2 separate regions of the Homo sapiens genome follow, and region 1 is linked to region 2. Evidence: promoter capture Hi-C in 16 types of primary human blood cells and fetal thymus (Javierre and others, 2016). All regions are on one chromosome and are shown on one strand. The core of a region is centred on a gene start or on the middle of the fragment in contact, and the rest is flanking DNA. Distances in the headings are between cores, read along the strand shown.

What was found. The method cuts DNA at HindIII sites, captures the fragments that hold promoters and counts their contacts. A CHiCAGO score of 5 or more calls a contact.
Region 1: the fragment with the promoter of CYP4F2 here is called in contact with the fragment with the promoter of LINC00661 in region 2 in 1 of 17 cell types (activated CD4 T cells); the score reaches 5.1 in activated CD4 T cells.

The regions. Positions count from the first base shown.
Region 1 is chr19:15,896,820-15,900,005 of GRCh38, reverse strand. CYP4F2 (cytochrome P450 family 4 subfamily F member 2) reads left to right here and starts at 1,932. Exons shown (of 13, transcript NM_001082.5): 1 at 1,932-1,980; 2 at 2,394-2,592. The coding sequence starts at 2,395. The HindIII fragment of the contact is 3,476 bases long and covers 1-3,143 here.
Region 2 is chr19:16,013,883-16,017,009 of GRCh38, reverse strand. LINC00661 (long intergenic non-protein coding RNA 661) reads right to left here and starts at 1,376. Exons shown (of 9, transcript NR_026828.1): 1 at 1,221-1,376. It overlaps LOC105372291 (a long non-coding RNA gene), which reads left to right and starts at 1,954. Exons shown (of 2, transcript XR_936355.1): 1 at 1,954-2,039; 2 at 2,625-2,874. The HindIII fragment of the contact is 12,039 bases long and covers 1-3,127 here.

The DNA of each region.
Region 1 (3,186 bases), core at 683-3,182, 120 kb after region 2:
ATCGGGGAGGCTCGGGCTGCACAGGAACCTACGGAGGCCGGGGGCTCAGGCATGGCGGGCTGCAGGTCCTGGGCCCTGCCCCGCGGGAAGGCAGCTAAGGCCCGGCGAGAAATCGAGCGCAGCGCCGGTGGGCTGGCACTGCTGGGGGACCGAGTACACCTTCCCGAGCAGCCGCTGGCCCGGGTGCTAAGCCCCTCATTGCCCGGGGCTGGCAGGGCCGGCCGGCTGCTCCGAGTGCGGGGCCTGCCAAGCCTACGCCCACCTGGAACTCTAGCTGGCCCGCAAGTGCCGCGCGCAGCCCCGGTTCGTACTCGCGCCTCTCCCTCCATACCTCCCTGCAAGCTGAGGGAGCCGGCTCTGGCCTTGGCCAGCCTAGAAAGGGGCTCCTACACCTATAAGTGAGAATATGCGGTGTTTGGTTTTTTGTTCTTGCGATAGTTTACTGAGAATGATGATTTCCAATTTCATCCATGTCCCTACACAATGAGAACATATGGACACAGGAAGGGGAACATCACACTCTGGGGACTGTTGTGGGGTGGGGGGAGGGGGGAGGGATAGCATTGGGAGATATACCTAATGCTAGATGACGAGTTAGTGGGTGCAGCGCACCAGCATGGCACATGTATACATATGTAACTAACCTGCACATTGTGCGCATGTACCCTAAAACTTAAAGTATAATAATAATAATAAAAAAATCCAAAAAAAAAGAAAAGAAGAGAAAAGAAAGGGGCTCCCACAGTGCAGCGGTGGGCTGAAGGGCTCCTCAAGTGCCGCCAAAGTGGGAGCCCAGGCAGAGGAGGCGCCGAGAGCGAGTGAGGGCTGTGAGGACTGCCAGCATGCTGTCACCTCTCAGTGGGAGCAGGTGTGACAAGAGTTGGGCAAATCAGACCTTTAATCCACCCTGATAGGCTGGAGTGTGGGCTTATGGCATTTCTCCTTTGACCCAATTAACCTCCACTCCCAATGTATCTCTGTGCAGAAGGCTCAGCTAGGTGTATCAGCCATTGTAAATCCTCAACATAAATTATAATTTAACCTAGAATACAGAGACTAGGTAGCAGGAGGAGAGGAAATGTAGAGATACTAATCTCTTCTCCCTTATCAGAAAGAAACCTAGCATAAGAAATTTCACGCTTAATGGGCCAAAGAGTAAATCAGAAAACTCCATGGGTGATGGTATGCTCATGGTGGTGGTGGTGGTGATGGGGAATTATTTGCCCTCCTGTGACCTCCCTTGGATTAATTTCTCCCCAGGACAATGGGAAAAATCATTTAATCCTTGGAGTTTTTTTTTTTTTTTTTTTTTTTTTTTTTTTTTTTTTTGCTTGAGAGTGACTCTGATCCTGTTTCTGATGGTCATGTTCCTCAGCATCATACTGAGTAAGTCACTGGCCTTGTAGCATCTGGAGTGATTGGAGTGATCCAAGATCCCTAGTTCCCATGTCACAAATGAGGATCCCACATATCTGGGACAGAGATGGAACATTATTTCTGGGTGTGTCTATCTAATCTATTCATCCTATCTATCTAATTTCTCATCTATATATATATTTGCCTACCCATCCATCCATCAATCCATCTTAGCTGTACGTTTATCCATTCCATCTATTTATCCTATTATCTATGTATCTATCTATCATCTATTAATAGCTATCTATCCATCTGTCTAATATATCCATTATCTATATCTACTTTATCTATCTACCTAATGTATCCATCCTATCTACTCTATCTATCTGTGCATCTACCCATCCATCTGGACCCTGAGCTGATTCCTCTGCACCCAGCTGGCCTGACGCCAGGTGTTGATTGGCTGCCCAGGCTCAGGAGACACATCCAGGCTGCAGGGATTGGTTGGCCCAGCCCAACCCAGCCAGCCCTCCCACAGCCTTTGCTATATCAAGGGCCAGGGTCAAAGGCCTCCCAGCAGACAGAGAGAGGAGGTTGTCTGGGACAGACTGCTCCTGACAGAAGGTGCCAGGCTGGGGGTGGCAGGCCTGGGGGGGGTCCTGGCCTGGGATGGAGAGGGGCACTGCCCAAGGCCCACGCAGCTCCTGGGTGCTGGCCTGGAGGATGGGTGGTTTCCGAGTAACTGAAACCAAGCCCCTGGCAACCTCACAGTGATTCAGGCTGGGCCTTTCTGGACTTTAATCAGTCTCTCTCTCTCTTTCCCATTCTAAGTGCTTACTAGGGAACTGGAGGCCACTTGGCTGCTGGTTTTGGTTGGGCCTTTCTGGACTTTACCTCTCAGCCCCTTTTTACCCATCCCTGAGCCCTCCCTGCTCTACCTCCGGCACTGCCCGTCCCTGCCTCTCCACTGTCCCTGGAGGTCCCTGGGCCGTTCTCTGGGCCTCAGGATCTCACCGTCCATCCCGTCTGCCCTGCAGGATGTCCCAGCTGAGCCTGTCCTGGCTGGGCCTCTGGCCAGTGGCAGCATCCCCTTGGCTGCTCCTCCTGCTGGTCGGGGCCTCCTGGCTCCTGGCCCATGTCCTGGCCTGGACCTACGCCTTCTATGACAACTGCCGCCGCCTTCGGTGTTTCCCACAACCCCCAAGACGGAACTGGTTTTGGGGACACCAGGGCATGGTGAGTGTGGCAGCAGGATGGGTCTAGGTCTCAGGATGGATGGACTTCCTGAGGGGTACGAGGCTTAGGGAGTGGGGGTGAAGGGGTGGGCTGGGATCTGGGGTGGCAGAGAAGCAGAGGAGGCATCTTACTCATTCCTCTGCTTATTCATTTCTGTGAGGTGCCTACGCAAGCCCTTCTCACTTCCTTGTCCTCCCACTCCAGGCCTGCATTGAATCCTTTTCCTGCCTGTCTTCCCACATTAATGCACCTCTGCGGGGCTCCTGGGCAGAGGGTTGGCTGCACAGAGAGGCGAGTCCCTGGCATTCCCACATTCTCCATTGCTGGACTCGAGGCTTCTTATGCCCACTGTCCAGGGTCCTCTCCTTGCCTGGACTATTTCCTGTTATGAGGGTACAGCTGGGCCAGAGGAGAGGCATGGGCCGTCTCCCACTTCCACTACACCCGAAGGCACCTTTCTCTTATATTCTTCTTCTTATCTCCCTCTTATCAATGAGACCTGTTGCCAAACCCAGATAAAAGTTGGCCACTCACTTCACCTTTCAGAAGCTTTCCTTGGCCTTTCTCCTCCCCGTGACCTTGCCCTCTGACTTA
Region 2 (3,127 bases), core at 127-2,626:
CAGCATGGGTTCACAGCCTCTGTCATGACGGGGCCCTACCTGGCTCAGCAGGGCCCAGGGTCAGCGTCCTCTGCCCGCTTAATGGTCAACATGTATGCGTGCAATTTGTCTGTGTATGTGAGGATGCATGTGTGTGGGTGAACACGTCTCTCCTCCAGCTGGGCCTGGCTGCTCCACTCAGGTGTGCACCTGGATCCCTGTCACTGTCACCCCCGGGCCTGTGGCCAGCATCAGAGCACCCATAGGTGCTCCTCAGCCTCTGCTCTTTCCATGCTGGGTGGTCCTGGGGATGCAGATGGGGCAGGGACATAGGGCAAAGGGCAGAGGGCAGAGGGCAGAGGGCAGAAGCCAGGCTTCCCCCTTGGGGTGACTCGCGTAGTGTGTAAAGTGCCAGGTCTGTGTGGCAGGGCTGGATTCAATGCAATGCACCCTCTCACCTCCTCCTCCCAGAAGCCCACTGGGGTGCTGTGACTCACCCCCCACCCCATGGATGGAGGCAATCACGGAGGCTTCGAGGACTAACCCGTGGCCTGAGATCACCCAGGATCCCACTGGCCAGGCTTCCAATGGTTAAGCTCCCACTGAACAGGTCCTAGCTGACCACCCCCACAATGACCAGGTCCCACTGACCAGATGTGGACTGACCAGGTCCTGCTGACTGGGCCCCACAGACCAGGCCCTGGCTCATCAGACACCACTGACAAAGGCCACAATAACAAGGCTGCAACTGACAAGGCCCTCACGGCCCTCACTGACTAGGTCCCAACTGATGGACCCCACCAAATAGATCTCACTAATCAGACCCCCGCTGACCAGGCCCTAACAACTGCTGGACCCCTGCTGGCCAGGCCCCAAATGCTGAACCCCACTCACCAGGCCCCAAAAGCTGAACCCCACTGACTGGGCCCCAAATGCTGGATCCCTGCTGACAGGCCCCAACTATGGGATCCCCACCAACCAGGCGCCAACTGTCAGACCCCTGCCAACCAGGCCCCGGACGCTGGACTCCACTGACCATGTCCCAGCTACTGGACCCCCACTGACCAGGCCCCAACAACTGCTGGACTGCACTGATCAAGCCCAAACTGCCAGACCCCACTGACTGGGCCCCAACTCCTAGACCCCTCCTGACTGAGCCCCAACTGCCAGACCCTTGCCAACCAGGCCTCTTCTTATGAGACCCCTGCTGACCAGACCCCAACTGCTGGGCCCCTGCTTACCAGGCCCCCACATCCACACCTCACTGACTAGGCCTCACTGCTCTGATCCCCGCCGATCAGGCCCCAAATGCCGGGCCCAGATGACCAGGCCTCAACTGCTAGACGGCCCACCAACCAGGCCTCAGCTCCTGGACCCCTGTTGACCAGGCCCCAACTGCCAGACCCCAATGACCAGGCCCCAACTGCCAGAGCCCTGCTGACCAGGTTCCAACTGCTGGATCCCCTTTGACCAGGCCCCAACTGTTGGACCCCCGACAACCAGGTCCCAACTGCCTGATTCCGCCAACCAGGCCCCAACTGGTAGACCCCTGCTGACCAGGTCCCAACTGCGAGACCCATGCAGATGAAGGCCCAGCGTCCAGACCTCACTGCCTAGACCGCACTGATCTGATCCTCACTGACCAGGCCCCAACCGCCAGACCCCACCTACCAGGTCCCAGCTGCTGCATCCCTGCCAAATAACCCCCAGCTGCCGTATCCCCTCTGACCAGGCCCCAACTGCTGGACCCCCTCCAAACAGGCCCCAACTATAAGACCCCGCTGACCAGGCCCCAACTGCCAGACCCCCATGGACGAGGCTGCAACTGCCAGATCTCTGCTCACCAGGCCCCAACTGTGGGACCCCCGCTGGCCAGACCCCAACCATGAGACCCTCGCCAAACACGCCCCAACTACTGGACTCTTGCTGGCCAGGCCCCAACCCCCAGGGCCTAGTCAGTCAGTGAGACCTGACTAGGTCTCACTGATCAGATCCCCGCTGACCTTGCCCCAGCTGCAGACCCCTATTGACTGTGGGCGGAGGATTACCCAGGTGCCGAGGTGAGAGACTGAAGACACAAACTGTTTCAGTATAATAAAGAAAATAGTTAGAATAAGAATAGTCATAATACAAATTAGATATAGAGATGATCATGGACAATTATCAATCATTATTATAAACATTATTAATCATTAGCTTTTAATATTACTCTTTGTTGCGTTACTAACATAACCTAGGAATAACTGGCGGGTAGAGGGTCAGGTGCTGAAGGGACATTGTTAGAAGTGACCTAGAAGGCAAGAGGTGAGCCCTCTGTCAACGCGTGCATAAGGGCAGCTTGAGGGCTCCTTGGTCAAGCGGTAACGCCAGTGTCTGGGAAGGCGCCCGTTACTTAGCAGACTGCGAAAGGGAGTCTCCTTTCCTTGGAGGAGTCAGGGAACACTGCTCCACCAGCTTCTTGTGGAAGGCTGGATATTATCTAGGCCTGCCGCAGTCATCCGGAGGCCTAAACCCCTCCTTGTGGTGCTGTGCTCCAATGGTCACTTTCATGTTCCTCCCGTACTCCTGGTTCCTCTTTGAAATTTGTAGTAGATAGCGGTAGAAGGAATAGTGAAAGTCTTACAGTCTTTGATCTTTCTTGTAAGTGCATAGAAGAAAACGCTGACGTATGCTGCCTTCTCTCTCTCTGCTTCGGCTACCTAAGAGGGAAGGGCCCCCTGTGCTGTGATCACGTGACTTGCTTCACCTTGTCAATCACTTAGAAGATTCACCCTCCTGACCCTACGCCCCTTGTCTTGTATGCAATAAATATCAGTGTGCCCAGCCATTCAGGGCCACTACTGGTCTCCGCGTCTTGATGGTAGTGGTCCCTCGGGCCCAGCTGTTTTCTCTTTATCTCTTGGTCTTGTGTCTTTATTTCTTACGCTCTCTCGTCTCTGCACACGGGGAGAACACCCGCTAAGTCCCGTAGGGCTGGACCCTCCAATCAACCAGGTCCCAACTGCTGGACCCCACTGACCAGGCCCCAGGAACTGCCGGCCGCCTGCTGACCAGGCCCCACTGGTCCGATCCCCACTGAGCAGTCCCCTGCTGATCAAACCCCACTGACCAGATTTTCCATGACCTGACCCTCATTGAATGGATCCCG